Linked DNA regions of Homo sapiens: all the other regions are linked to region 1. The links are contacts of gene promoters, found by promoter capture Hi-C in blood cells and fetal thymus (Javierre and others, 2016). All regions are on one chromosome and are shown on one strand. Each heading gives the region's core, a stretch centred on a gene start or on the middle of the fragment in contact. The rest is flanking DNA. Distances are from core to core; before and after follow the strand shown. Region 1 holds the start of IL2RB-AS1 (IL2RB and C1QTNF6 antisense RNA 1). Region 2 holds the start of CARD10 (caspase recruitment domain family member 10). Region 3 overlaps CARD10 (caspase recruitment domain family member 10). Region 4 has its middle 6.7 kb from the start of ELFN2.

Region 1 (6,448 bases), core at 3,295-5,794:
ATTTGAATGAAAGAGCGTGAGGCCAAGCATGACGACTCACAACTGTAATCCCAGCACTTTGAGAGGCCGAGGTGGGTGGATCACCTGCGGTCAGGAGTTTGAGACCAGCCTGGCCAGCATGGTGAAACCCTGTCTTTACTAAAAACACAAAAATTAGCCAGGCATGGTGGCCGCGCCTGTAGTCCCAGCTACTTGGGAGGCTGAGACAGGAGAATTGCTTGAACCCGGGAGGCAGAGGTTGCAGGGAGCTGAGATTGTGCCACTGCACTCCAGCCTGGGCAACAGAGCGAGCCTCTGTCCCCCTCCCCACCCAAAAAAAAGAGCGTGAGTCCTAGAATTTGGGAGGTAGTAAAATCCACCCTCATCCATAATATCGGAAGTTCCACAGGCTGGCAGGATCATCCCACCACGTGCCCAGCTTCCAACCACAGAAAGGCGCTCCCAGAATTTTGCAGGATTTCTTTGGATTTGCTTCATGTTTATCTTTGAGATTGCTTCATCTCTTTGGAGATCAGCAGTAAAGTCTTAAAGGCAGCAGGAATCTGTGTGTTTGCGGAGACAATGAGGAAAGGAACTGAGGGAAGTGTGTGTGGCCCGTGCAGTGAGGCTGGGAGGCCATGAGCCACGTCAAGCAGTGACTGCGTGGTGGAGAACCCCAAATGTGGCACCCTTGGGACTGAGAGGTGGCCAGAAGGGGCAAGTCGACTCCCATGATGCCTCCACAGAGAGGGATGGAGGCTTGGGTTCTAGACTGTCCACCCCCAAGAGGCCACGCCTGTCATTACCCCAGCCCCTGGGTGGCGCTGCTTCCCCTGTGGCAGACACGCATCTCTCCACGGCTGGGGGCAGCGGGGACAGTGCAGAGTCTGCCCCCGCTGCTGGCCTAGCTTGTCCATCCCTGTCTATGAGGAGCTGTTGCTCTTCTCAGCTGCTCTCCTGTTAGGTCTTGGGACCTGCACCTTCTGTGATGTCAGCTGCTAAAACACACCCCATCTCTTCTGCAAAACAGGTAGCTCATTTCACCCCCAACCTTGGCAAACACCAAACTTCCTGCAGCTGCTTTGGTTTTCTTCAGGGCCTTTCTGCTGTGTTCTGGCCTTCCTGAAAGAGTCTTATTATTCTGTCCATCCACATCCACTGTCTGTCCATCCGTCTGTCTGTTCATCCCTTCATCCATCCATCCATCCATCCATCCATCCATCCATCCATCCATTCTTCCTTCCTTCTCCCCCATCCTTCCTTCCTTCTCCCCCATCATTCCTTCTCTCCCTCCATCATTCCCTCCATGATCCCCCCATTCATCCTTCTTCTGTTCATCCATCAGTCCATTTTCCATTCACCCATTAACCACCCTTCTATCCACATCACAATGACTAAGCACCTCCTATGCTCCAGGCACATACCAGGCAGCATAAAGAAATGCAGAATGAATGGGATTCAGTTCCTGCCCTTGGGGAGCACCCACTTTAGTTGGGGAGAGAAGGAAGGCCTCTGGCAGGTACCTAACCCCATCAGAAAGCAAGGGTAAAGGCCTGGGAGGCTTCACGGAGGATGTGAACCCGGGGCCTGAAGGATGATGAGTCCGCGGGATAAGAAGGCAAAGGAAGGATGCCACATGCAGGGCAGGGAGGGGGCAAACCCTGGGAGGAGGGGGAGGCATGCAAGCGATTCTGCGTTCTGTGTGGCCAGAGGATTGGATGCAAAGGGGGATCTTCAAGAGGGGGCCCAGTTAGGGACAGCCTTGAAGCCAGACTCAGGATGCTTGGATAGGGTCTTGAGGGCAGTGGGGAGCCCCTGAAGAGTTGTGTGCAAGGATGCTCTGGATGCAGAGTGAAGGATGACATGGCAGCGTCCCGCTAACAAATATGAACCCCTCTGTAAACAGAACCCCTGTGTAAGCAAGAACCCTCTGTAAACAGAATCCCTCTGTAAACAGAACCCCTGTGTAAGCAAGAACCCCTCTGTAAACAAGAACCCCTCTGTAAACGTGTAAACAAGAACCCCTCTGTAAACAGAATCCATCTGTAAGCAAGAACCCCTCTGTAAACAGAACCCCTCTGTAAGCAAGAACCCCTCTGAAAACAGGAACCCCTCTGTAAACAGAACCCCTCTGTAAGTAAGAACCCCTCTCTGTAAGCAAGAACCCCTCTGTAAACAGAATCCATCTGTAAGCAAGAACCCCTCTGAAAACAAGAATCCTTCTGTAAACAGAACCCCTCTGTAAGCAAGAACCCCTCTGAAAACAAGAACCCTTCTGTAAACAGAACTCCTCTGTAAACAAGAACCCCTCTGTAAACAGCATCCCTCTGTAAACAAGGACCCCTCTGTAAGCGAGAACCCCTCTGTAAGCAATAACCCCTCTGTAAACAGCATCCCTCTGTAAACAGAACCCCTCTGTAAGCAAGAACCCCTCTGTAAGCAGAACCCCTATATAAGCAGTGCCCCTCTGGCACTGGGCGTGGAGGGAAGGAGATGGAGCTGGGGAAATATTAGGCTCTGGTGATAATTGTTGTTCCCCAACTGCCTTCAGCCACCTAGTCTGTGCCTTGGCTCTTGCAGCTCCCTCTGTCTTGGGCCCTTTCTCTCGACCCATTCCGGCCTATGGAACACTCATCCCCATCCTCCCAGAGAAGAGGAAGAACCCAGCCTTCCTCAGGTGCCTCCTGCATGCCAGGAACTGTGGGTGATGGCTTCTCTGTGTGCACAATCTCATGCCATCCCCATGAACCTAAGAGGTGGGGAGTAGTCGCATGTTTCAGATGCAGAAACAGGCTCAGAGAGGTAAAGGAACTTATCCAAGATCACACAGCTAGGAAGTGGCCAAGGTGGGATGGGGACCCAGCCCTCACTGCCTTTGCACAATGACCCACTGCCCACAGCACCGATGCCACATCCTCTGGAGCCTCCCCTATGGCTCCAGCCAAGCCACGTTCTATTTTTGGGTTTGTGTTTTTGTGTTTTGTCATTTGCAGGCGTTTCAAACTGGGCACGCTCTATGCCTCTCATACTCATTATGACCACATTTTCTAAAGACAAAACTGCACAGACAGCCTGAAAAAGTATTTTTTCTGTCTTGTTACTTTCTTTAATAACGTCTTAGCCAGTTTAGAATCAAATCACATGTATTTACTCTTCTCACGTGATACCAGGACTGTTCTGAAAGTTCAGGCCAAGGGTCACCACATTGACACGATTTCCTTAGTTATAATCATTTGCATACTTGTCCTACCTCCATACCAAGAGAAGGTACTCTGAGTTAGAGTTCAAATCCCACACATCCTTGTCATTCCCACAGTGCCCAGCATGCTGCTGCCAGCAGGTGCTCAGTAAATCCTTACTGAACTCATGCAAAGGGGACAGACGCCACCTCAGCCCAACACCAAGATTGTCCTCCCTCCCTCCCGCACCCCTTCCCTTCCTCCCTTGCTTCCCATCTTTCAATAAATGCAGTTTGAATGCATTTGTCACACAAAGCTTTAGGCTCAGAGAAGCTGTGGGACTCCATGCACTTCACCTGTGGCCTTGAGGCACCGCAGTCCAGCCAGGAAGACAGACACCAGGCAAATCCTCCCACCTATGCCCAGTCAATTAGGAATATGAGCACCTGATCCAGTGATGGGCAGGGCAGCATCCACTTTAGATGCACGGGGTGCTGGGAAAGCTGCCCTGAGAAAGTGACCGCAGGCTGAGGCCTGGGGCAGAGAGAACGTGGGCAGGGGCTCGAGGCAGGGAAGAGCTTGGAGACTTCCAGGAACTGCCAGACAGCCAGGGGCAGTGGGGCAAGGGAGAGAAGAAGCCAGAGAGGCCGCAGGCCTGGGCTTTCCATGGCGAGGAGGCCTGGATACTGCATAAGTGCAGCAGGAAATGTTGGGTGGGGTCGGATTTTCACTTTACAAGGGCAGTCGCTGGGGCAGAGGGCATGGGACTCAGGGAGGGACTCAGGAGGCAGAGAGATGGTGGGACGAGACTGAGGGTGCCGGCTGGGGCTGGGGGTAGAGGACTGTGAGCGCTTGGCACTTGGAGGCAGTCAGAGCTGGTCTGGGCAGGGGTGCTGTCACCCAGGGCCGAGGAAAGGGATACAGGAGGGGCAGAGGGTGGGTCGGAGGCTGTCCTGGGAACCCTAAACGTGGGGGCCAGGAGAAGGAGGTGCTCCCGTTTCTGATCTGTACCAATTAAGGGGAAGGTGAGAAATTGCTTGGGTGGAGTGTCCTTCTCTGAGTCTGGGGGTTAGGTGGGATGAGGGGACCTCGGAGGCTGGAGGCCAGAGTTCACACTCCTGCCCTGCTGTGTGACCTAAGGCTGAGAGCTGCCTCTCTCTGGGCCCAGATGCATCATTACCTATTCAGCAAGCAGCTGGGCCTGAGAGCCTCCGAGATCCCTTGCAGGTCTGCTGGTCTCGGCTGCCTTTCCTTGGTCTGCCCTCATGCTGTCTTCCCAGAAGCCAGGGGCCCAGTTTGCTTCCCCTGCTTGTCCTGTGGGCACTTGCGACTCCCGGGGAGGCAGCAGACACGGTCCAGCGTGGTCACGCTCCTGGCCGCGACTTCACCTCCCTCCTGCAGCACAAGTCTCGAGGAGGCTGGGGAGGTGCGCGCACTGCCCTCTGGTGGCAACTTCTGGGCCCACCTGTCATTGTGCCCTGCTGTTTTCTAACTCAATTATTCTTGAAGGGATGATTGAGCGCCTTTTGCATGCAAAGTCCCGAGGTAGGCATGAAGTAGTTGGGCAGTCCAGATGGGGGAGAAGGTGTCGTGGATGTGGAGCCCAGGGTGTCACTCTACGCGCTCCCGATCCCTCCCAAGGCCTAGGCGTCCTCCCTCCACCGCGGGAACGGAGCAGGGGTGGCACAGAACTCTGGTGGCTGCAATGAGGGTTCAACGGTTGAATGCGTGGAGTGCATCTTAGCTTCACTTCTGGCCCAGGAAGCGCAGGCTCCGTGTACAACACACGCAGCGGTGCAGTGCCTTCAAAGGGGGCGTGTGGCTGTGTGTGTGGATGTGCCAGTTTTGGGCTTCCTCTCGGCAGGAGGTGGGGGGGCGGGGAGGCTCTGGCGCTGAGTGCCCCCTTTCCATTGCGGTCCTTTGGTGCAGTTGAGGGTCCCCCCAGTAGCAGGGGCATTTCCAAGGAGCCAGGACTTCAAGGGCCTAAGGCTGGAGGGGCCCTGTCCAGTGCAACAGAGAGACCTTGAGCATGGGCGGTGAGGTCACCTCTCCTGGCCCAGCTATCAGCTGAGCTGGATGTGCATGGCTCAGGTTTGCACAAAGGAGGCCCACCTGTTCACAGGAGTTCTGGAAAGAACACACCTGTGGCAAAGACACACACACGTGCACACCAGACAGGCCATGATCTCGCTCCCCTGGCGAGGAATGACTTCCTTGCCGTAGGGAGAATTCAGGGGAGTCTGGCCCTCTTGAGGAGATGCTGTAGAGGGGAGTTGTGGACGGTTGGATTCAGGATGTTTTCAGCTCCAAGTGTCTGCTTTAGGCCGGTCTGCACCTGTGTCCTCCCCGCCTCTGTCCTTCTGGCACTTGCCCTGGGTAGGCCTGGCTCAAAGCCCTCTTCTCCCCTCCTCCCCCAACCCCACAAACAATAATAAAATTAAATTAAATTAAATTAAATTAAATTTTTAAAAAAAGCCCTCTTCTCCATGAAGCCTGCCCTGAAGAGGCAGCTGCCCAGGAGCATCTGCACATCTCATACAAACTTTAGCTGTGATTATATTGCATTCGTTCCCATGCCTATTTCCTGTCCCTGCAGCTAAACTCTGGGCTCCTTGAGGGCTGGGTGGAGTCTTGGGCATCTTTTGTGGCTGCTATAACTCCCAGCCCTGAGCCAGGATAATACAGACGCTTGACAAACGCTCCATGCTGACTGGCAGGTGTTCCTACCTTCCATGCCTGGGAAAATCATGATTCAGACTCTCCCTGGAGAGGCCACGGTCAGAGAAACATTAGGAAGGACAGAGTGGGTTCTGGAAGGCCAGAGGCACACGGCCAGAGCAGGCACAGATGCGGCCAGCCATAGCTCAAATTCTCATGGCTCTCTTCTTCCAAAGGTGGCGGCAGCCTGGTAGTTAGGAGCATGTGCTTAGGAGCCAGATGGCCCAGGCCCACATCCCATCTCTGACACTTATCACCTACCTGTGTGCGGCCCTGGGCGAGTTATTTAACCTCCCCGTGCCTCAGTTTTTTCATCTGCAAAATAGGATAAGAGTCCTAGTCTGCAAGTGCTGTTGTCAGGATTCACTGAGGTAACATGCGGCCTCTCAAACTTCTGTGCACACTCGAGTTGCTTGGGGACGTGGTGAAAATACAGATTCTGGCTCGGGAGGGCTGGGCTGGGGCCTGAGCATCTGCATTTCTGACCAGCTCTCAGGGAATGCTGATGCTCTTGAACCTGAAACTGCCTTCAGCATAGTCGGGAATCAACATGTGTACTTAGAATAGGGCCT
Region 2 (6,448 bases), core at 1,664-4,163, 350 kb before region 1:
TCATTCTTTCCAGCTTAGGCAACGTGGCAAGACCCCTCTCTACCAAGGGTAAAAAAAGTAGCCGGGCATGGTGGTGCATATGTGCAGTCCCAGCTATGTGGGAGGCTGAGGCAGAAGGATTGCTTGAGCCCAGGAGTTCAAGGCTGCAGTGAGCTATGATTGGGCCGCTGCACCCTAGGCTGGGTGACAGAGCCAGACCTTGTCTAAGAAAAACCTCCCAAACCAAACAAACATCATTAAGGCTGCAGAGTGGAGAACATACCATAGCCCATAGCACTGTGGGTGGGAGTTTGTGGGGGCATGTGTGGCTTGGACCAGTGGGGCTACAGGCAGTAGGACGCAGACTGGTTTGAAACATGGAGGCATGCCTTTTGATGAGTTGGGAAGAGGACTGACATTCCTGTACCCACTTCACATATGGAGAGACTGCAACTCAGAGGCAGTCCCTGCACATGGGGGACTATTGTCCACTTTTCAGATGTAGAAGTTGAGAGGGGGAGGAATTTGTCCGAGTAGATGCAGCTAAGGCTGAATGTTGGTCTCCAGGGCACCCTCCACTCCTGGACTGTCTGCCTTTGTAGGTGTGGCTGGGACTACTCACCGCCTGCCTTTTGCAGACAGGGAAATGGAGACTCAAAGAAGAACAATACTCATAGCGGTGAGCCCGCGATAGAACCCAGGGCCCCTGGTACAAAGTCTAGATTCTCGGTGTCCCTGCTGTAGTCCCTGCCCGCCTTCCTGGCATAGCTATAGAGAGAAGATGAATGTAGCAGAACTCACAAGAGGACAATAATGAACATGGTACCTAATCACACGCTTGCACACTCGGTGCTATGGACGCCCGGGGACAGGGGAAAGATGAGGAGGCTCAGATGTTTGTGGGGAAGTGGGTACGCCCCTGTCTGCCTCCTGCCTGGCTTGATGCCCACAGTGGGTGGGTGTGTATGTGTGCATGTGTATGTGATGGTGCGTGTGCATGCCTGTATAATTGTACATGTGAATGTGGGAGTGTGGTACCCAAAGGAACTCTGTCGCTTCCCCTGGAATGCTGGGCACCAGGGGCACTCGGTGTACCCAGCTACCTGCCTGTTCAGACCCAGTGTGCCCTCACTTCTCTGTCCACTTATCTGCAGAGACCTCTTGGCTTCTGTGCCTTATCTTTAGGCCCTGCTTAGCTTCTCGATGAAAAAATAATTAACCATAGCCTCATTTTCCAAGGCGTCCATCCCGCTCTGCTGGCCAAGTTAAAAATATTCACGAGGAGTAGGGCTGCTGGTGGGAGGAGCTGCCGCTCTGCGTGGGAGGGCAACCAAGGCCACAGAGAGGGGAAGGACGTATTGAAAGGGAGGTCTGGTGTGTGCCTGGACTCGGGGCTTGGAGAGGACAGAGGCCAGGGGCTGGGCTCCGGCCTATTCCCATTGTGGCCTCGCTGTGTGAATTTGGGCAAGTTCCTTGCCCTCTCTGAGCTCTGCTTCCTCCTTTGTTAATTGAGGAATTTGCACTAGAATTCAGTTCTCCCAAAGCATTTCTTCTGCATGTAAACAGGTGACACCCAAAACAAAAACAAATGTACAACAAATGCAAACCAAAAAAAGGCTGTGGTTAATTAAGTTTGGAAAAGGACACCAGGATATATAAAGTTAAATCTGTTTCTTTACTGCTGGGGCTTTTTTTTTTTTTTTTTTTTTTTTTGAGGGGGAGTCTCATTCTGTTGCCCGGGCTGCTGGAGTGCAGTGGCACGATATCACTGCAACCTCCGCCTCCTGGGTTCAAGCGATTCTCGTGCCTCAGCCTCCCGAGTAGCTGGGATTACAGACGCGCACTACCACGTCTAGCTAATTTTTATATTTTTAGTAGAGATGGGGTTTCGCCATATTGGTCAGGCTGGTCTCGAACTCCTGACCTCAGGTGATCCACTCGCCTCGGTCTCCCAAAGTGTCGGGATTCCAGGCATGAGCCACCGCCCCCGGCCTTAATTTAAGCAGGGCTTTTCAGAGCCTTTATTGATTGAAACCTTAATTCTTTGGATAAGTAATACATATGTCCACGGCATCTAATTCAGAAGTTGTGGAAGGCGATTAGGGAGCTCACACCTCTTTCCTGTACCGGTTGTGCCTCCTCTGTTCCTCCCTGGCAGCAGGTACCTGGCAGCTTCTAATGCATAGCGAGACTGTATCGCATGCACCAGCAGATACCGTGTAGACTCGGCCAGTATCATGGTAAGACACCACCGGCCTCCCAGGCAGGAGCGGGAGTATGGATGGCTAGTCACAGCCCGCCCCCAGCATCTCTGGGACCAACACCTGGAGGAATACCCTTTGAGAATTGTGGGGTCCCTGGTCCTCAAGTGCCACGGGAGTTTGCGTAAGAGGGGAGTTGGCAGTGCTGCCCTGCAGGTTCAGACCCCCATCTTGCAGAAAGCCCCCATGACCTCTGCCCATTGCTGTCCCCCGCGGGGCTGTCCTGCGCTCCAGGGAAGCTCCCGCGCCCGCAGTGCATGTGGGGACCCGAGAAGGGCAAGCCCAGCTTGAGTGCCCGCGGGCTGCGCCGGGCGTGAGCGGCTAGCCCCGCACGGGCGGGCGCGCTGTGGGCGTGGGGAGGCGATGCGCGTGGCCCGGGGAAGGTGTGTCGCGGCGCGCGGGGGGTGTGAGCGCGCCTGCCCGCCCCCGCCCCGCCCAGAGGCCGGGCAGGTGTGGGCGGGCGGCCAGGACCCCGCCGAGCCGGGCTGGAGAGCCGGCGGGAAACAGGAAGCAGGGGGAGGCGCAGCCGGACGGCCGGGAGGGAGGGCGTGCAGACGGACGCGCGGGGTGGCCGGGGGCCGGACGCACGACCCGGGGCGGGCGGCAATGTGGGGAGGCCCGGGCAGCCCAGGAGGCTGCGGGGACGGGGGCGGAGCCGGGGGCGCCACGGGCACCGCCCCCCTGCGCCGGCGGAGCCGCCGCCCGAGTGCGGACCCGGGAGCCCGAGGCGACTGTAGCGTGCGGGGTGAGTCGCGGGGAGCTCGGGGCGCGCCCCCGACGGCGGGTCTGCGGACGACGCCCCGGGGGTGCTTGGCCGCACATCTAGCCCTAGGGAGCCCTGGTCGACCCCCGTGCGCCTCTTGCCCGCAGACCCTGAGGACACGGCCATGCCGGGCCGGGCGGAGGCGGGGGAGGCCGAGGAGGAGGCCGGGGCCGGCTCGGGGTCTGAGGCGGAGGAGGACGCGCTGTGGGAGCGAATCGAGGGCGTCCGGCATCGGCTGGCTCGCGCCCTGAACCCGGCCAAGCTCACGCCGTATCTGCGCCAGTGCCGGGTCATCGACGAGCAGGACGAGGAGGAGGTGCTGAGCACCTACCGCTTCCCGTGCCGCGTCAACCGCACCGGTGAGCCGCGGGTCCCGAGTGGGCCACGACCTGGGCCGGCCGTGCCCTGGGGCGCAGCGCCCACAGCCGTGTAGCGCGAAGCTAGGGCTCTGCTGCCCTGGGGCTCGGTCTCCGCATCAGTAGAGTGGGCCGGCTGGGTATGCCCACCAGCCTGCCTCCTCCCCACCCACCACTGCGCCTTGGCGGTCCGCGTTGCCCACACCGGGGTCAGAGTTTTGTCTCTTGGGGTTCTCTCCCACTTCCTGGGTCCACATTAGAGCAGAAGGTTGGATGTGGCTGCCAGGGCCGGCTGGGCCTGGGACCTCCCGGTCACAGCCGGTGGACTTGGCACCTTTCCTGCGCTCTTTGATCTCCGAGTTCTGTCTGTCCCCTCCTCTGTGCACCATACACTCCTGGGGGAGTCCTTTTTCAAGTGTCAAGATCCGTCTCAGCTTTACGTGGGTCCCCACTCCCACAGGGTGTGCCTTTGAACCAGAACTCAAAAAGGCATGATGGAATGGTCTTTAATGGTGGAATTTCAGGCATGGCCAATGGGAGAAGTATTTTCTTTGCTTCTGGGGATAGAGGGGGCTTCTCTGTGCCATTGAAAAGGCAGGCTGCATTTGCGGGCCGGCATCTGTGTCTGTGGGGGGTGTTGGGGAGCTCTGGGAGCCCAGGAGTCATGAGGGAATGTGCTCCCCTGGCTGTGGCAGAATGGCTCTCTTCTCTTCCCTGATGTGTTGGGACAGGCCCCTGTGTGTGTCACTGGCTCAAAAATCTGGGGAACGTGGGCCTGGAGCATGGTGGGGGCAGAAGCAACCAGGCACCTGGGGAGGCCTTCCCCTAGACCCTGGGTACATCCCCCCACTACTCTGTAGGGCGCCTGATGGACATCTTGCGCTGCCGTGGCAAGAGGGGCTATGAGGCCTTCCTGGAAGCCCTGGAGTTCTACTACCCCGAACACTTCACGCTGCTCACGGGCCAGGAACCCGCCCAGCGCTGCTCCATGATCCTCGGTGAGTGGATCTGCGGTGGATGCTGGCACCTCGGACTCCAGTGCACAGGCTCCTTTCCCCATCCCTGTTAGGGAGGCGCTCCCACTATGCCTGTTGAACAGTAAGGGAAACTGAGGCATGGAGAGGCTGAAGGGGCTTGCCCAGGGCCCCACGGTAGGCTGAGGGTGGGGCTGGGTGCTAGTGCCGTTATTCCAAGTTCAGAGCCACATGCTTAAGATGGCTCTTTCTTCGTGATACTGTTTTCAGACATATGTCTGACATACACAGATGTATAGTTTTTTATGTAAAAAAATACAGAGGCTCCAGGTGACTTTGAATTTTTTTTTTTTTGAGACAGTGTCTTGCTCTGTCACCAGGCTGGAGTGCAGTGGCGCGATCTCAGCTCACTGCAACCTCCGCCTCCCAGGTTCAAGCGATTCTCCTGCCTCAGCCTCCCGAGTAGCTGGGATTACAGGCATGGGCCACCACGCCCTGCTAATTTTTGTATTTTTATTTTTAATAGAGATGGGGTTTCATCATGTTGGCCAGGATGGTCTTGATTTCCTGACCTTGTGATCCGCCTGCCTCGGCCTCCCAGAGTGCTGGGATTACAGGCGTGAGCCACTGCGCCTAGCTGAATTTTTTTATATAAAAAACACAAACACATACACACACGCACACACGCCTACGTGTGTATTTTGCTTTTTCTTAGAACAACTGATTTTAGTGATTCTTTCACCTCTGTTACATACACTTGTTTTAAGTGACTGCATACTGTTCATTAGTGAAGTTAGGACATAATTCATTTAACCCATTTCCAGTTGATGGATACCTAGGTTTCCAGTTTTGTATTATTACAACGATACGGGAACATCCTTGTATGTGCGTCTTTGTGCAAATGTGTCTCAGGCGAAGAGGTTCTGAGAAGAATTTCTCAAAGAGTCTGTGTATTTTAACTGTTAAATCAACATACCTCCTACCAGGAATGTGTAAGGGCCCATTTGAATCCTGGGGATCATGTTTAAACGTTTTTACCATTCTGATATGTAAAAAATAATGTTATTGTTTTAAGTTTATATTTCATTGAGTGATACAGTTCACAGGTTACTAGTTATTAAACCTTGGGTAAATAACTGCTCTGTGCTTCAGTTTTTCTGTCTTTAAGATGGGTACAATAATAGTACCTACCTTACAGTGTTGTCATAAAGATTAAGATATATCTAGCACAAAGAATGAAGTTAACAAATATTAGTAGCTACTGTAATTATTGTTGATAGGTTGGTGCATATTTTCCTGTATTTATTAACTATTTTTATTTTGGGACTTGCCTATTGATAGTTTTTGTCCATATTTTTATTTGGTTGTTGATCTTATTGATTTGTAGGAGCTCTTTATATATTACGGCTCTGAGTTCTTGTTATATTTTCTCCCACTCTGTTGCTTATTAACTTTGTTACATCTTTCATTTTTCAAAGGTTTAAACATTTTTATATGGATTTGTCCATCTTTTTTCTCTTATAACTCCTGGATTTTGTGTGTTGTTTAGGAAGACCTCCCCTGCTCCCAATTCTACAAATATATTCCAGAATTTCCCTCTAGTGTTTTTATGGTTTGAGTTTTTTGACACAGTATGTTATCTCCTGGATTTTACTTGCCTGAGCTGCCTATTCTGTCCCCTGTTCTGTCCTGGCAGATGAGGAGGGGCCTGAGGGCCTGACCCAATTCTTGATGACAGAGGTGCGACGGCTGCGGGAAGCTCGCAAGAGCCAGCTGCAGCGGGAGCAGCAACTGCAGGCCCGGGGCCGGGTGCTCGAGGAGGAGCGGGCAGGGCTGGAGCAGCGGCTGCGGGACCAGCAGCAGGCTCAGGAGCGCTGTCAACGGCTGCGGGAGGACTGGGAGGCGGGCAGCCTGGAGCTGCTGCGGCTCAAGGATGAGAACTACATGATCGCCATGCGCCTGGCACAGCTCAGTGAGGAGAAGAACTCGGCTGTACTTCGCAGCCGTGACCTGCAGCTGGCGGTAGGCCCTGGGGAGATGGGTCGGGGAGGCAAGGGAAGGGGCAGCTTTTGCAATGTAGTAGCCAGCCAGCCTGTGTCCCAGAGCCACCATTGC
Region 3 (6,448 bases), core at 2,179-4,678, 330 kb before region 1:
GCATTGCAGGAGGAAGCCACAGACAGTGAAAAGGAGATCAATCGGCTCTCCATCCTGCCCTTCCCCCCCAGTGCCGGCTCCATCCTCCGCCGGCAGCGTGAGGAAGACCCCGCACCCCCTAAGAGGTGAGATGGCTGGGGATAGCAGTAGACACCCAGGGAGGTGGGGCTGCCGTTTCCCGAACAGCCACCTCCCAGAATCTGCAATGCCAAAGTCAGGTCCAGGCAGTCACTTCCCTTTATTGCCCTCAGATGGCTGGAGCTCTGGAAACCCAGGTCCTGTGAGTCACAGGGGCGACCAAGGTCAGGCTTAAGATAAGGCCGATGGGCAGAGCGAACTCAGTCCTAGCCAAGCATCCTGGCAGGAGGGTCACTGGGGGTCAAGCCTTGAAGATCCTATACCCAAGGAGAAGCTTGATGGTTCAGGACTAGGGGGCGTGGAGAATGTTTCAAGGTATCAGGGACCTCCGGCAAGAAAGCCAGGCCCCAGGTTTGGGCATCAGCAGCAAATAGGGACCAGAAAAACCAAGGCGCACCCTCTGGTGGCAAGACCAAGGGCGGGAGATAGCCTGCCTCCTGGGGCGCGATCCTTGTCACTGCTTTTCCCCTGTAAGCAGCCCTTGATTTATTCCTTTACTGGTGAGAGGCTGGGCCCTGGGAGGCTGTGGTCAGTATGGCCTTGATCTGCGTAAATCTGTCCCAAGGAGGTGTCTGATGAGGAGGTCATGGTTTAATTTAGGAGGCGTACCTGGGAGTCACAAACCACAAAGGTGGCAAGTGAGGGTGAGGTGAGGGGTGAGAGATCAGGGGTGGCTTCCAGGAGGAGGTGGCATTGAAAGAGCTGGCTTTGAAGGGCATGCCAGGGCATTGTAGGTGGAACAACATTGGACAGAGGCCAGGACATTAACTTCTTACCCTGGGAGTTTAGGGGAGCCAGGTGGCATGGGTGCCCTGTACCTGGGACCCTGCCTTGAGTCTAGCCTGCATTTGCTTGGGGGCTGTGAGACATTTATCTGGTGTGGGGGCAGGAGGAGGGAGCGGGGCAGAGTGCCCACTGTGCCTCACCTCCTGCCCCCTCCCTGCCCTCTCTCTGCCCAGATCCTTCAGCAGCATGTCAGACATCACAGGTAACAGCCCTTGAGTTCCGTGGGGAGGGCTCCTCTGGTCGGGGGAGGTGGCTTTGCAGCCCACCTGAAGCCTGCACCACCTGCGCTACCTTTGGCCTGCATCCCCTTCCCTGAAGCCCCGCCGTGGCCCCTGCCAGGCAGGAAGGTTGTGCTTGGGAGGACCCTGGGGACTTTGGTTCCAGCCTCTCACCCCGAGCCCAGTCCTGGGCCTCACTCCTGTTCCCGGCTGTGATGTACGAGGCTCTTCAGTTCTGGGCCACCTTTCACCCTCTTCTGGGAAACTGCGGGGTCAGCCTGGTGGGCCCTGACCTATCTCTGAGCCCAGTGGGTCTGATGTGCTCCTGGGGCCTCAAACCTGCCAAGGCCTCTCTGGGCTGGAGGGGGGTCAGTCCCTGTCATGGACCCTGGCCATCCCTGTTTCCCAGTGCCAGATCCCTGAACCTCATTCTTTTTCCCCAGGGAGTGTGACACTTAAGCCCTGGTCCCCTGGCCTCTCTTCGTCCTCATCCTCTGACAGCGTGTGGCCTTTGGGAAAGCCGGAAGGCCTCCTGGCTCGGGGCTGTGGCCTGGACTTCCTCAACAGGTACTGTAGCTGCCTGCAGTGGGTGGAGCTGGGGTGATTGCTTGAGAGGGGAACAGGAGTGAGGTGGGAGGAGCAATTGCCTCGCCCCTGTTTTATGCAACTATTGGAAGATTAAGATCTGTAGACACTGGCAGCCCTTGGATTCCAATCCTGCTGCCGCTCTTGATCGTCCCTGTGACTTGGGCTGGTCCCTTCACTTCTCTGGGCCTCCATTTCCTCAGTAGCTAAAGGGAGATGATGACCCTTTTTGCATGGAGGTCTTTTGAGGGCTCTGCTCGCAGAAGCAAAGCACCCAGCTCTGCCAGGCATGTAGCAGGTGCTTAGTAATAGTTGTCACTTACAAGCTGTCCTCGTCCCAATGTCCTGCCTGTCAGTCCCTTGGCTCTGAGTCCCTGGGACTGAGCCACCCAGCAAAGTTTCATGCTGTGGGTGGGCTTGGGTCACCTCAGGAGCCCCTGTGACCGGGCCAGCCACAGGTCCATAACAGGAGTCACAAAGCCCATTAGTGCAGAGTGCACTGTAGGCGACGTGCTGTTAGTGTGGCCGGTGCGTGGCCGCTGTTCACACCTGCCAGTGTATCTAAGGGAGGGGTGGGGCAGAGCGGGGGCTGCACGGCCATTGTGGTCTTGGAACTCAGCTGTGAGGAGAGGGCAGGTAGGGAGAGCATCCGGTGACTGTGGAGGAGGAGCGAGGGGGAAGGGCGAAAGTCAAGGCTTCCTGAGTCAGGCTGGGAAAGTGTGGACTTTGGCTTGTACACTCTGGGAAATGTGGGAGGGTTTAGTTATTAACTGCAAGGCCAGCTGCTGGCTGTTTTACAACATGCTCTTTGTCCAGGGAGTAGGCATAATGACGATTATCTCTGCTCCATAGAGGAGGTAACTGGGGCTCAGAGAGGTTAAGCAACTTGCCCAGGGTCCCACAGTTGGGAAGTACCAGGTCTGGGTTCATAGTGACCTGATCAGATTTGGGTTTTGGAAAGGGCATAGGAAACATGGACTGTCAGCGCTGGAATGTGGAGGTGTTGGGTGCAGAGGGATGGGTCACGCAGCAGATGGGTACAGCATAGGACCAGGGCCTCTGGCCTCCGGAGCGGCTTGGTCAGCCAGTGTCCAGGCCCTGCCCCCACCTGGCCCCCGGCAGTGGGCTCAGCGAGACATTGTTTTTGCCTGTGCAGGACGTGCTTCTCGGGGAAGGGGTGGAGGCGCCTCCCTTCCTGCTCGCCTCGGCCCTTCCTCCCTTCCTCCAGTTTGGGCTGCAGCAGGGGTCCTGGCTGTTGTCCAGGGGGCGCCAGGATGCAGCCAGGGAGCAGGAGCCTCCGTCCCAGCCCCGCCCAGGCCCCACGATCACATGGGGCCACTTCTGCTGCCCATGCTGTTCCTGGGGAGGAGAGAGGTTCCTGGGGAAGAACACAGGCTGGGGAAGGTGCAGAGGTGGTGGACAGAGAGAGAGAGAGAAAGAGAGAGAGAGAGGCAGACAGGCGGAGAGGAGAGGGAGAGGGAGATGAGGGCCCGGACAGGTCCCAGGTCGGGGCAACTTGTGTGTCTCCTGGGATTGTGTTATGGCGAGGTGGGAAGAGCTGGCTTTGGTGTCAGCACTTGCTACTGTGGGACCTTGGGCATGTCTCTGAATTTCCCAGTGCCTCAGTTTCCTGCTCTGTAAAATGGGCTCACATAGTGCCTGTCCCTTAGGGTCACTATGGGGGTTTGAGTATCCCTTCTAGAATGCTTAGCACACTCACGGTGGATGTCAGCATATGCTCGCGGTTAGTTATGATTATTGTCGCCATTGTTGTTTAATCCTCAGAGCAGCTCTGCAAGGCTGGAATTTTAACCTCGTTACACAGACCAGGACACTGAAGTACAGAGACAGTTAGAAATTGGTCCCAAGTCACAGGCCCCTCGGAGCTGGTTGGAGATTCCGATGTGCCTCCCCACTGTCTCAGCTGTTGGAGATCTCACATCCGTATTGTGTGCCCACTTTGTACTGGGCACCATGTTGGGCATTTTCTCTCCTCTTTCCCATTTCCTGCCCATCTCTTGCCCTCAGCCTCTCTGCCCTGCCCTTCTCAGCTCCTGGAGCCTGGGTGCCGGGAGGGGATGGTGGATAGTGGGGGGCTGGGGCAGACCGGGGGTTGGGCTGACAGATAGTCAGGTGGGGGACAGCAAGGGAGAACTCATGGGGCAAGTGAGGTGCTGGGTGAGAGAGGCAGAGCATGGAGAGCACTGGAGGGTTTCGGGGTGCCGTCTCCCCAGCATAGCCTCACCACTGCCCAGCTCGCTCACGTGGCCCCAGGGGATCTCTGGCACCTTCTGTCCTTGCAAAGAGAGGGTTCCCATAAGTCATTGCCTGGCTCCACGGCCCACTAGCTGTGCCCATTCTTGGCAAGTTAACTTTCCTGTGCCTCAGTTTCCCTTATCTCAACCATCGGGTTGTCAGGAGGATTGACTGAGGTGATCTGTGTGGCATGCTTCAGTCTCAGCATCAGGTCCCTGACCTGGTACCAAGCAGGCACGCAGACTACTCAGATATCTTCCCACGGGGCCCTGGGGGACATTCATTGAGGCCATGTGGCCTGTCACTGCTCAGAGCTGGCAGAGCTGGCAGACTTGCCCCGTTCCTGTCTGCCTGTGACCTGACCTGACTGGGGAGGGGGCTGGGAGCTGGTAGCTAAGGACACTGTGCTTCCTAGTACCACACAGGCAGCCAGCTGGTCAGCCAGTCCCAGGAGCGGGGAGCAGGCAGCCCCTCTCCCTGCTGTGTCCTTTCTCTACCCCTCCTGCTTGTCTGCTGAGGCGGGGGGCTGGGAGGAACCCTATCTGGACCCTGCTCTGGGCAAGCCCCTGTGGGCTCTGCAGACTCCGAGGAGTGCTGGGAGCAGGTATTCCTGGTCTGTGGAGGCTCAGAGAAGTCACTGGTCCTTTGAGGAGGTTGGCAAGGGCGTCCTGGAGGAGGGGGCGCCTGAGCTGGGTCTTCAGGGAGCTGCAGGAGTTGTCAAGAAGAGCCTGAAAAACCTGAGTTGAAAGCTGAGGTCAGCCTTGATGCTTGCATTGCAGAGGGGAGAGGTGTGGAGGAGGGAGCGAGTAGAGGTGGGTGGGGTGGGTAGGGTTGGTGGAAGAGCCTGGATGCCAGCTGCTTACTGGGCTCTGGTCTGGAGAGGCCATGATGGTCAGTTGTCTGTGGGTTTGAAACAGGTGGGGAAACTGAGGCAAGCGAGAGGTGATTTGTTGTGAATCACACCTGATGCCAGTAAATGTCTAGTTTTGACAGAGCACTTAGTGTCTCCTGGGCCCTGTTCTGAGAGCTGCCCATGTCTAAACTCAGCGAGTAGCCAGGGAGGTGGGTGGAGCTGAGGCTCAAGCGGCTGAGCAGCTGGGCCGTTTGACCCCAGAGTTCCTGCTGGCACCCTGCGTGCTGTGCTTCTCGGACCATCTGACCACAACCCACAGTGAGAGAAACCCGGTACACATGCCTGGAACAAAAAGGTCATGAGATAATAATTGGATTTACCTGGGGTGGCGGGAGCGGGGTGGGGGATAGCATTGTACTTTCTATTCCATAGCATTATCCAGCTGTCCCAGTCGCAACCCAGTGAATGTTACCAGCCACTAAGGGCCAGGCCTGCAGTTTGGAGGCCCCAGAGTCCTCTGGTTTCCACCTCTCCCTGCATTATCTTTTATTCATGTGCCCCCCCCCCCCACCCCCCAGCACCCACAGAGGGCAAGGGGTGTCATTGTCAGCTTCGTGTTATGCATGTGGTAACTGACGCTCAGCAGCCGGCTCATTTGCCCAGGCTAGGGTGCAGTTTGCCCTGGGGTTTGGAGCGGACCGTGTGCTCCAGCCACAAAGCCAGGGCCAGCATAGCCAGGCCAGGTCTCAGGCCTGCCCCCTTTCCATGCCACCTCGATGCAGCCAGGACATGCGGCACTGAATGATGCCTCCCATGCCTGCATCTGTCCAGCCCCTCGGCCTGGCTCTGTGTCTTACCTGAGAGGGCGGGGCTGTTCCCCAGCAGTGCCGATTGGGTGGGAGGTCCTTGCAGCCGCGCCCTCCCCAGGCTGGCAGCAGGGGGCAGTGCAGCTGTGTCTGGGCTGCAGCTGCTGGGGTGGATGGAGATGCTTCGCCCCGCTGCCTCTCCAGCCAGCACACCTGCTGACCTTGGTCTCCCCACCTCCTCCAGGCCAAGGTGTCTGGCAGGGGACTTGGGGTCCATTTGTCTCTGAGCCTGGCCACAAGGCCTCACCTTTTCTCATCCAGGGACAGGCAGAACCCTACCATGATGGGGATTTTGGTGACGTCTTAATTGTCAGTGGTCCTCCTGCCCATGGGAGGAAAACCAGACGCCTCTGTTCCACGCCCTCCAAAGGGTGGCTCCAGCTTGCCTTTCCTGGGAGCTGCTTCCCAGGATGTAAAATAAGAATTAGGGCAAGGAGCTCAGCATGGTGTCTGGCACATGGAAAGCACCCAGGAAGTGTTCGCTGCTATTGTTATTATTAAATTCTTCCACGCATCCTGTGTTCTGTCCTCCACACCTTTGCTCTGATATATTCCTTCAGCCTGGAACTCTGTTTCCTCCATCTGTCACCAAAGTGCATCTATTCTTCACCAGCGTGTAGCCTAGGTACTTCTTCCGTGGGAAGCCTCTCTCTGCTTCCACGGCTGGTTGTAACCACCTTTGGATCTGTGCCACGTGCTAATGGTGACCTCCCTCCTCAGACTGTGAGCATAACAAGCTTTTTTTT
Region 4 (6,448 bases), core at 1,011-3,510, 270 kb before region 1:
GCCCATTCTGATGGGGCCTTACCCCCGAAAAAAGAAGTCTTGGGCTCAGTTTTCTTGCTGCATACCGAATAGACTCCATGGTACAGCTTTTTTCACCTTCCCACTCTTAGAGCTGGGCTTCTGTCTCAGTTTCCCTGCCTAAAACTCCAATGAATGTGGGATAATGGGAGTCAGATGGGCCTGGTTCACCTCCTGCCCTACCATCACTCCAGTGCAAGCAGCTTCACCTCTCCAGGCCTCAGTTTAAGGCCTATCTGTTAAGCGAAGGAAGCGCCACCCTAACCAAGTGACCAGGGTTAGTATCACCAATGATCCATCCTGTACCCCCTGACATGTAGCAGTGACAATGTACTATAACTCTGGGCTGTTCTCCCCCACTGTGACCCATATTAATGATAAGAAGACATCAGACAGGCCAGGCGTGGTGGCTTACGCCTGTAATCACAGCACTTTGGGAGGCCGAGGCCGGCGGATCACCTGAGGTCACAGTTCGAGACCAGCCTGGCCAACATAGTGAAATCCCGTCTCTATTAAAAATACAAAAATTAGCTGGGCATGGTGGCGCATGCCTGTAGTCCCAGCTACTCGGGAGGGTGAGGCAGGAGAATTGCTTGAACCCAGGAGGTGGAGGTTGCAGTGAGCCGATATTGTGCCACTGTACTCCAGCATGGGAGACAAGAGCGAAACTCTGTCTCAAAAAAAAAAAAAAAAAAAAAAAAAAAGCAAGCATCAGACAAATCCAAATTGAGGGACAGTCTACAACATATCTGGCCCTTCAAAACTGTCAAGGTCAAGCAAAGCAAGCATAGTACAATGAACTGTCCCAGGCTAGAGGATTGAGGAGACATGATGGCTGAATACAATGTCATGTCCCAGATAGGATCTTGGAACAGAAAAAGAATCCATGGAAAAACAGGTAAATCTGGATGAAGGCTGGAGTTTAGTTAATGGTAATGCACCAATGCTAATTTCTTAATTTTGACAAAGGTACCACGGTTATATAAGATGCTGGCTTCAGGGGAAGCTGGGTGAAGGGTATCCGGGAACTCTCTGTGCTATCTTTGCATTGTTTCCATAAATCCAGAATTATTCCAAAATAAAACATGTATTTTTAAAAAGTCCCTGCGCTGCTGCTGTTGCTGTTGTCTGGCCAGGGTCCCTCCCAGTTCCTCTGCTGACAGGTCCTCTCCCTGGTTACAAGGGCAGGGGTACCTGACCCAGGCTGGGTCACCCTGGCCACAGCAATTGGTCCAAGGGATAAGCATGTGACCCACGCTGGGCCAATCAGAGTCCTTTCCTAGAATTGTTCAGCTTGGAATGGGAAGAGAAGCTCTTCCCACTCTGGCCATGAATCTGTCAGGCCGTAAGTCTGGGCCTGTGGAGGCTCCTGGTTCTCCTGCAGCAGGGACAGTGGGCCTGAGAGAACTACAGCACAAAGAGAGGATGTTGATGGCATTCAAGATGGCCTCCTCCTCCTTCCCAGTCTTCCTCAAGGCAGCCTGCCCTGTTATGGGAGTCAAGATATCACCTTTGAGTGTAATCCAGTTCAAACTGGTTTAAGTTGGGTTTCTGTCACTTACAACCAATGAGTCCTGGGGACTGATGACATCCCCTCAGGTTGTCATGAGGACATGGCGGCATATCTACAACCTGGCACAAGGGAGCCGCTCCTACGTGGTGAGGGGTCTTGTTATCCTCTCCAAGGAGTCTGGGGACTGCCCTGGACTCCAGCCTGCATGGCTGTGGCCCTGACACAGGCTCCCCTCCTGGTCCCACTCAGCCCCTGGTAGGAAGGAGAGGTCCCACTTCAAAGGAGCCCGCCTGGCTCACAAATCCCTTCCCATCTCCAGGCCCTGCTCCAGCCTTCTCCTCTGGGTGTGGGGAGCTGGGGTCTTGGCTGTGACCAGAGCTGGGTCTATGGCGGAAGAGAGGGGAAGTCCCTATCACCGCCCTGGCCAGACCTGGCAGAACTAAGGCACAGCTAGGTGTCAGATGCCAAGGCTGTGCCAGTGCTTGCTCTGAGAATGAGTTGTGATGGGCCATGTGAGCTGGAGTTCCATGGCCTCCAAGCATGAGGGCAGACAGAAAGCAGGAGATGAGAGAAAATGGGGAGATTTTGGAGAAACCAGTCAGAACTACCGGAAGGATCTGAGTGAGACCAAGGCCTCTTCTGTGGCCTGCTCTTACTGCCCCCTCTCAAATCTTCCTCCACGCCTTGCCCCTTCCAGGCGCCCTGCCTGCGTGCTCCTCCCACCTGTCAGGCAGGTTCCTGGAGCATCTCTTCTTGTGTGAAGATTTCCTTTGCCCAGTGCCCACCCCTGGTCCCTAGGGCAGAGCCGAATTCACCAGCCTTCCTGTTCACCCATCCGTTTTCTCTCCTCATGCTGGCCACTCCCTCTTCTTTTCTTCCTTCGTTTGTTCACGCAGGCATACACTTGATCATTTTCCTTAGCAAATATTTTTGGAGTGCCATCTGCATGCCAGACCCTGAGCACGCAAAGGTGAATGGGACCCACCTGCCTTTGCTTCTGTGGCAGTGAGGGAGAGAGGAGGGGCTAGGTTTAGCAGGCAGAGCTGACAGGAGCCCAGGTGGCATCCAGGTGGCATTCAGGTAGCATCTGGGATTTGAGCCTGAGTAACTTGGTAGCAGCCACACAAACCCTCCCTTTGCCATGGAGTCTTGGGAATATATACAATGCATCCCCCTCCCCAGGGACCGTCAGTCCCCCAGATTCTACAGTGAGAGAACCTCAGGAAAGGCATGACTCTGGGAAGTGACAAGCGATTGTAGGGCTAAGAATGGGGCTTTGAGCCTAAAATATCCCCAGCGTCTCGTGGCCACAGCCTGGCTGCATCAGCAGGAAAGCCTGGGGGAATCATCGCCTCTTCTTCACTGTGTGATCCTGGTCAAATTGCTTAGCATCTCTGAGCCTCTGCAGTCAAATGAGAATAACAGAAGTACCTCGTAGATTGTTGTCATTATTCACAGAGACTTTAATTCATGTAGAGCACATGGCACCAAGCCTGAAGGAGAGTAAACACCTCCTTTTTGAGCTATTATTACGATTTTAGGAAGAGTGTGGCCAGGTTGCAGAAAACTCCAGATGCCAGCGTAAGGAGCTGGCGCTTTACCCTGTGGAGTCAGAGACCAGAAGTTTTTGAGCAGAAAAAAGAACATGAAGAAACCAGCCAGTCAGCTCCTTTCTAGCCCCTACAGCATCTGGAACCTCGGAGCCGGCAGCAGGTCAGCAGTGACAAGCCCAGCCATGAGGCCGGTGACCTCCAGCTCCCAGGAGCTGCCGGCTGCCCCAGTTCCGGACCCAGGCAGCAGCCTGCCCCCACCCCCAGCATCTCCCTGGAGGGAGCCAGATAGATGGTTTAATAATGCAGGCTGCCGGGCTGACCTCGTAGCCGCTGAGCCAGCTGAGGCTAACTCCGCTCCCCCTGCTGTGGCTCCCGCAGAATTCCAGAGCTCCCTGCAAGGGTGCTCAGATCCAAATGGCAGCCACACAATAGTGCGGGGTGCAGTGGCCTCTGGCTAGGGGACAGAATAAGTCAGGCAGATGCAGAGATCTGAGCCTTCCTTCCTCCTCCTCCAGCTCTCCCTGGGGGTGTCTCAGAGGAGTCTCCTGGTTCAGAGAGCTGAGAGGAGGCCATCTGCCATGGGGCTGTAAACACTCGGCAGATCCCGCTTCTGTTGGAGCAGGCCTCGGGGTTGGGGGGAGGGGGATGGACACTCTCGGTCTGGCCCTTGCACCATTGGGTGGGGCAGCTCACCAGGACCCTCCCCAAGCACCTGCTTGTGACTGGCAAGGGGCTGGGCACCCATGGCACAGATCTGGATTAGATGGTTGAATTGGCTGAAAATGGCTCACCTTCTAGTGGAGGCAGCCGGTGTGTCAAAAGGGGTGTCCCCCATTGTCCTCCTGTCCCCTCCCTATCTGACAGCACACTCCAGGGCTGCTCTACCAAGACTGGCGGGGAGGCAGCCTGGCAAACCTCACCATCCAGTCATCTCAGCCCCAGCCAGGCAAGCAGGGTGCCATCAGCACCTCTAATAGGGTTCTCTGGGGTCCCTCCCATAGCTGGGTCTCTGGACCTACAGGCATCCACGTGGACACTTCAAAATATCCCCCAGAGTGTGGCCCTGGCCTTTGGTCCTCACAGGCACCCCCTCACTGGGGCCACACCTTCGGCCACCTTTGACTCTTGTCCAGCCCTAGGGTCTTTATGCACATTCTTTATGCATCATTAGCCTTGAGCTGCCCTTGGTCTATAAACAATGAAGACCATAGGCTCTCAGAATCATGGACTCCTAAGGAATCAGGCCATCCTGTGTTGGCTGCCACTCCTCTAGTTCTGTTTTCGTCTTTGATAGTCTGGATGCAGAACACAGAACTTCCTCAACTTCCCCAAATATAATTGATTGATCTCAAAACCACTGGCCCCCAAGAGGGCTCCTGATGGTACCTCCCTCCTGGGCTCCACCCCCTGTGTGGTCCCCTCACTACAATGAATGGGTCAGATCCATGGAACCAACGGGAAAGCAAAAATGAGTGTTACTTCTGAGGACAGGTCTTAAGAGACACAGGCTTCCTACTTGTTCTCACTCTGGAGAAAGCAGCCGCAATGTTGTGAGGACACTCAAACAGTCCTATGGAGAGGTCCATGTGACAAGACACAGAGGACTCCCACCAACAGCCAACACCACCCTGCCAGCCACGTGAGGGAAGCATCTCAGAAGCAGATCCGCCAGCCCCAGTCCAACCTTCAGATGGGTGGAGCCCCAGCTAAACATCTTGACTGCAAGTTTATGAGACATTTCAAGGCTGAATCACCCTCTCCCAAATGCCTGACCACAGAAACTGTGAAATAATAAGCATGTCATTTTGCAGATTTAAGCCACTGAGTTTTGAGGTAATTCATTACAAAGCAATAAATGACTCATAGGAGAAACACGCAGACTTTTCTGAAGGGAGTGGGGGGAAGGAGGTGGTAGGGAGACTGAAGTGGGGGAGGGGGCTCGTAATGTACACACCACAGCAAAAGAATGTCAAAATCCTTCCTAGAAATACATGTGTTCTTCGCAACTAGGCCTCCTGGGCGGGTCGGCTTCCCTCCCTGTCACCTTCCTCCCGACTTGTGGTCTCTTCTCTCTCCTACTCATTCTCCCCCAGGCCCCAGCATCTGACAACTACCTTCATCCTTGCATGCCCTGACCTGTCACAGTGACCAGAAAAACAAAACACTCCTAGATAAGAGGACCCACCTTCCCCAGAAGGCAGCTCAGCCCCCATCTCTTCCTAGTCCACTTGGCAGGGTTCCACCGTGGGCAAGGACCACGCTTTGCCTTCCAGGCCCGTCTTTTTCTTCCAGGCTCTGTCTCACCACTGGCTCCTGTCCTCAGCGAGCTGATGTCCTCAGTTCCAGTACTGGAGGCGCAACAGAAATGTGATTTTAGGTCTGGATCCAAAGGAGGAATGTGACACCCCGCACAAGCTCTGGGGTGTGTGTGTGTGTGTGTGTGTGTGTGTGTGTTTCTCTGAAAGAATCACTTTAACCTAATTTTCTTAGCATCAACTCAAAATGCCACTGAGACCAAGTGAAGAAAATTTCACCTAAGTACAAAGGGTAAATCTTGTTATTCACCTTAAACAATGCGTGAAGCTTTTAGCATTTCTATGTTCCTCTCACTCTTCCTCCTCTGTTCTCTAAGCTTTGAAGAAAGGACGACTTTCTGGAAAAAATGTCTTTCTAGTGACGTGGCCAGGGCAGTGGGATCATTTGGATGTGGGCCATGCTTGTTCACCTTGAAAATAAAGGGCACTTTCTGGTGAGCTGTCAGCCAGGGGCAGCTCCTGTGCACCTCTGGGAGAAGGCCGAGCAGATGGGGTTCTGGGATGCAGGGCAGGTGCCCAGCCCACCCATGTCACCTGGCACTGACATTTCGAGGATGGTTCTGCTCCGGTTAATTTTCCTGTGCACGCGTCACTCCACCCACAGCGCAATTAGCCCAGCTGAGGGCAGGAAGTGGTACCTGGATTCACATTCCTCCAAGACTGTCCATGGTGGTGGGGAGAGGAGAAATTAGGGCGCTGGTGGGAAGGGGGGGTGGATGCTGTGTGCCCGGAAGAGAACCTCCTAACGTCTAGATTGGTGGCTTATTAATAAGAATAATGTGTGAAAATGGCCTTGCACAGTGCCTGGCCCTGAGCGAGCCCCTGACACATGGTTGCTACTTGATAGAGGTGACCAAGTGAAGAATAAGCTGGGGGAGGTGGACACATAGAGAATGAATAATGACATGATGTGATGTGTGCTGTCACTGAAGCCTTGCAGAGTGTTCTGGGAGCCGGTGGAGAAGGAAGTAGCTCAGCCAGCTCAGTTTAGGAGTGGTCAGGGGAGGCTTCACTGAGGAGGCGGCTTTCAAGCAGTACCTGAGGATAGG

The links. The method cuts DNA at HindIII sites, captures the fragments that hold promoters and counts their contacts. A CHiCAGO score of 5 or more calls a contact.
Region 2: the fragment with the promoter of CARD10 here is called in contact with the fragment with the promoter of IL2RB-AS1 in region 1 in 3 of 17 cell types (neutrophils, total B cells and naive B cells); the score reaches 6.5 in neutrophils.
Region 3: a contact is called between a fragment that was not itself captured here and the fragment with the promoter of IL2RB-AS1 in region 1, in 7 of 17 cell types (neutrophils, non-activated CD4 T cells, naive B cells and 4 more). The highest score is 8.7, in neutrophils.
Region 4: a fragment that was not itself captured here is called in contact with the fragment with the promoter of IL2RB-AS1 in region 1 in 9 of 17 cell types (naive B cells, neutrophils, naive CD4 T cells and 6 more); the score reaches 10.6 in naive B cells.

Annotation. Positions count from the first base shown.
Region 1 is chr22:37,164,855-37,171,302 of GRCh38, reverse strand. It overlaps IL2RB-AS1 (IL2RB and C1QTNF6 antisense RNA 1), which reads right to left and starts at 4,544. Exons shown (of 2, transcript NR_199008.1): 1 at 4,339-4,544. It also overlaps a transcript of IL2RB not described here. RefSeq lists enhancers at 2,950-3,009, 4,324-4,373. The HindIII fragment of the contact is 5,870 bases long and covers 3,477-6,448 here.
Region 2 is chr22:37,515,880-37,522,327 of GRCh38, reverse strand. It overlaps CARD10 (caspase recruitment domain family member 10), which reads left to right and starts at 2,913. Exons shown (of 20, transcript NM_014550.4): 1 at 2,913-3,362; 2 at 4,220-4,357; 3 at 6,030-6,355. The coding sequence starts at 3,128. The HindIII fragment of the contact is 26,549 bases long and covers 1-6,448 here.
Region 3 is chr22:37,497,863-37,504,310 of GRCh38, reverse strand. It overlaps CARD10 (caspase recruitment domain family member 10), which reads left to right. Exons shown (of 20, transcript NM_014550.4): 9 at 10-125; 10 at 1,098-1,126; 11 at 1,586-1,709. Among named protein-coding and RNA genes, the nearest start is that of MFNG, 15 kb to the right of the region's middle. RefSeq lists enhancers at 1,052-1,649, 1,650-2,249. The HindIII fragment of the contact is 6,027 bases long and covers 415-6,441 here.
Region 4 is chr22:37,430,958-37,437,405 of GRCh38, reverse strand. No RefSeq gene overlaps it. Among named protein-coding and RNA genes, the nearest start is that of ELFN2, 6.7 kb to the right of the region's middle. The HindIII fragment of the contact is 6,818 bases long and covers 1-5,669 here.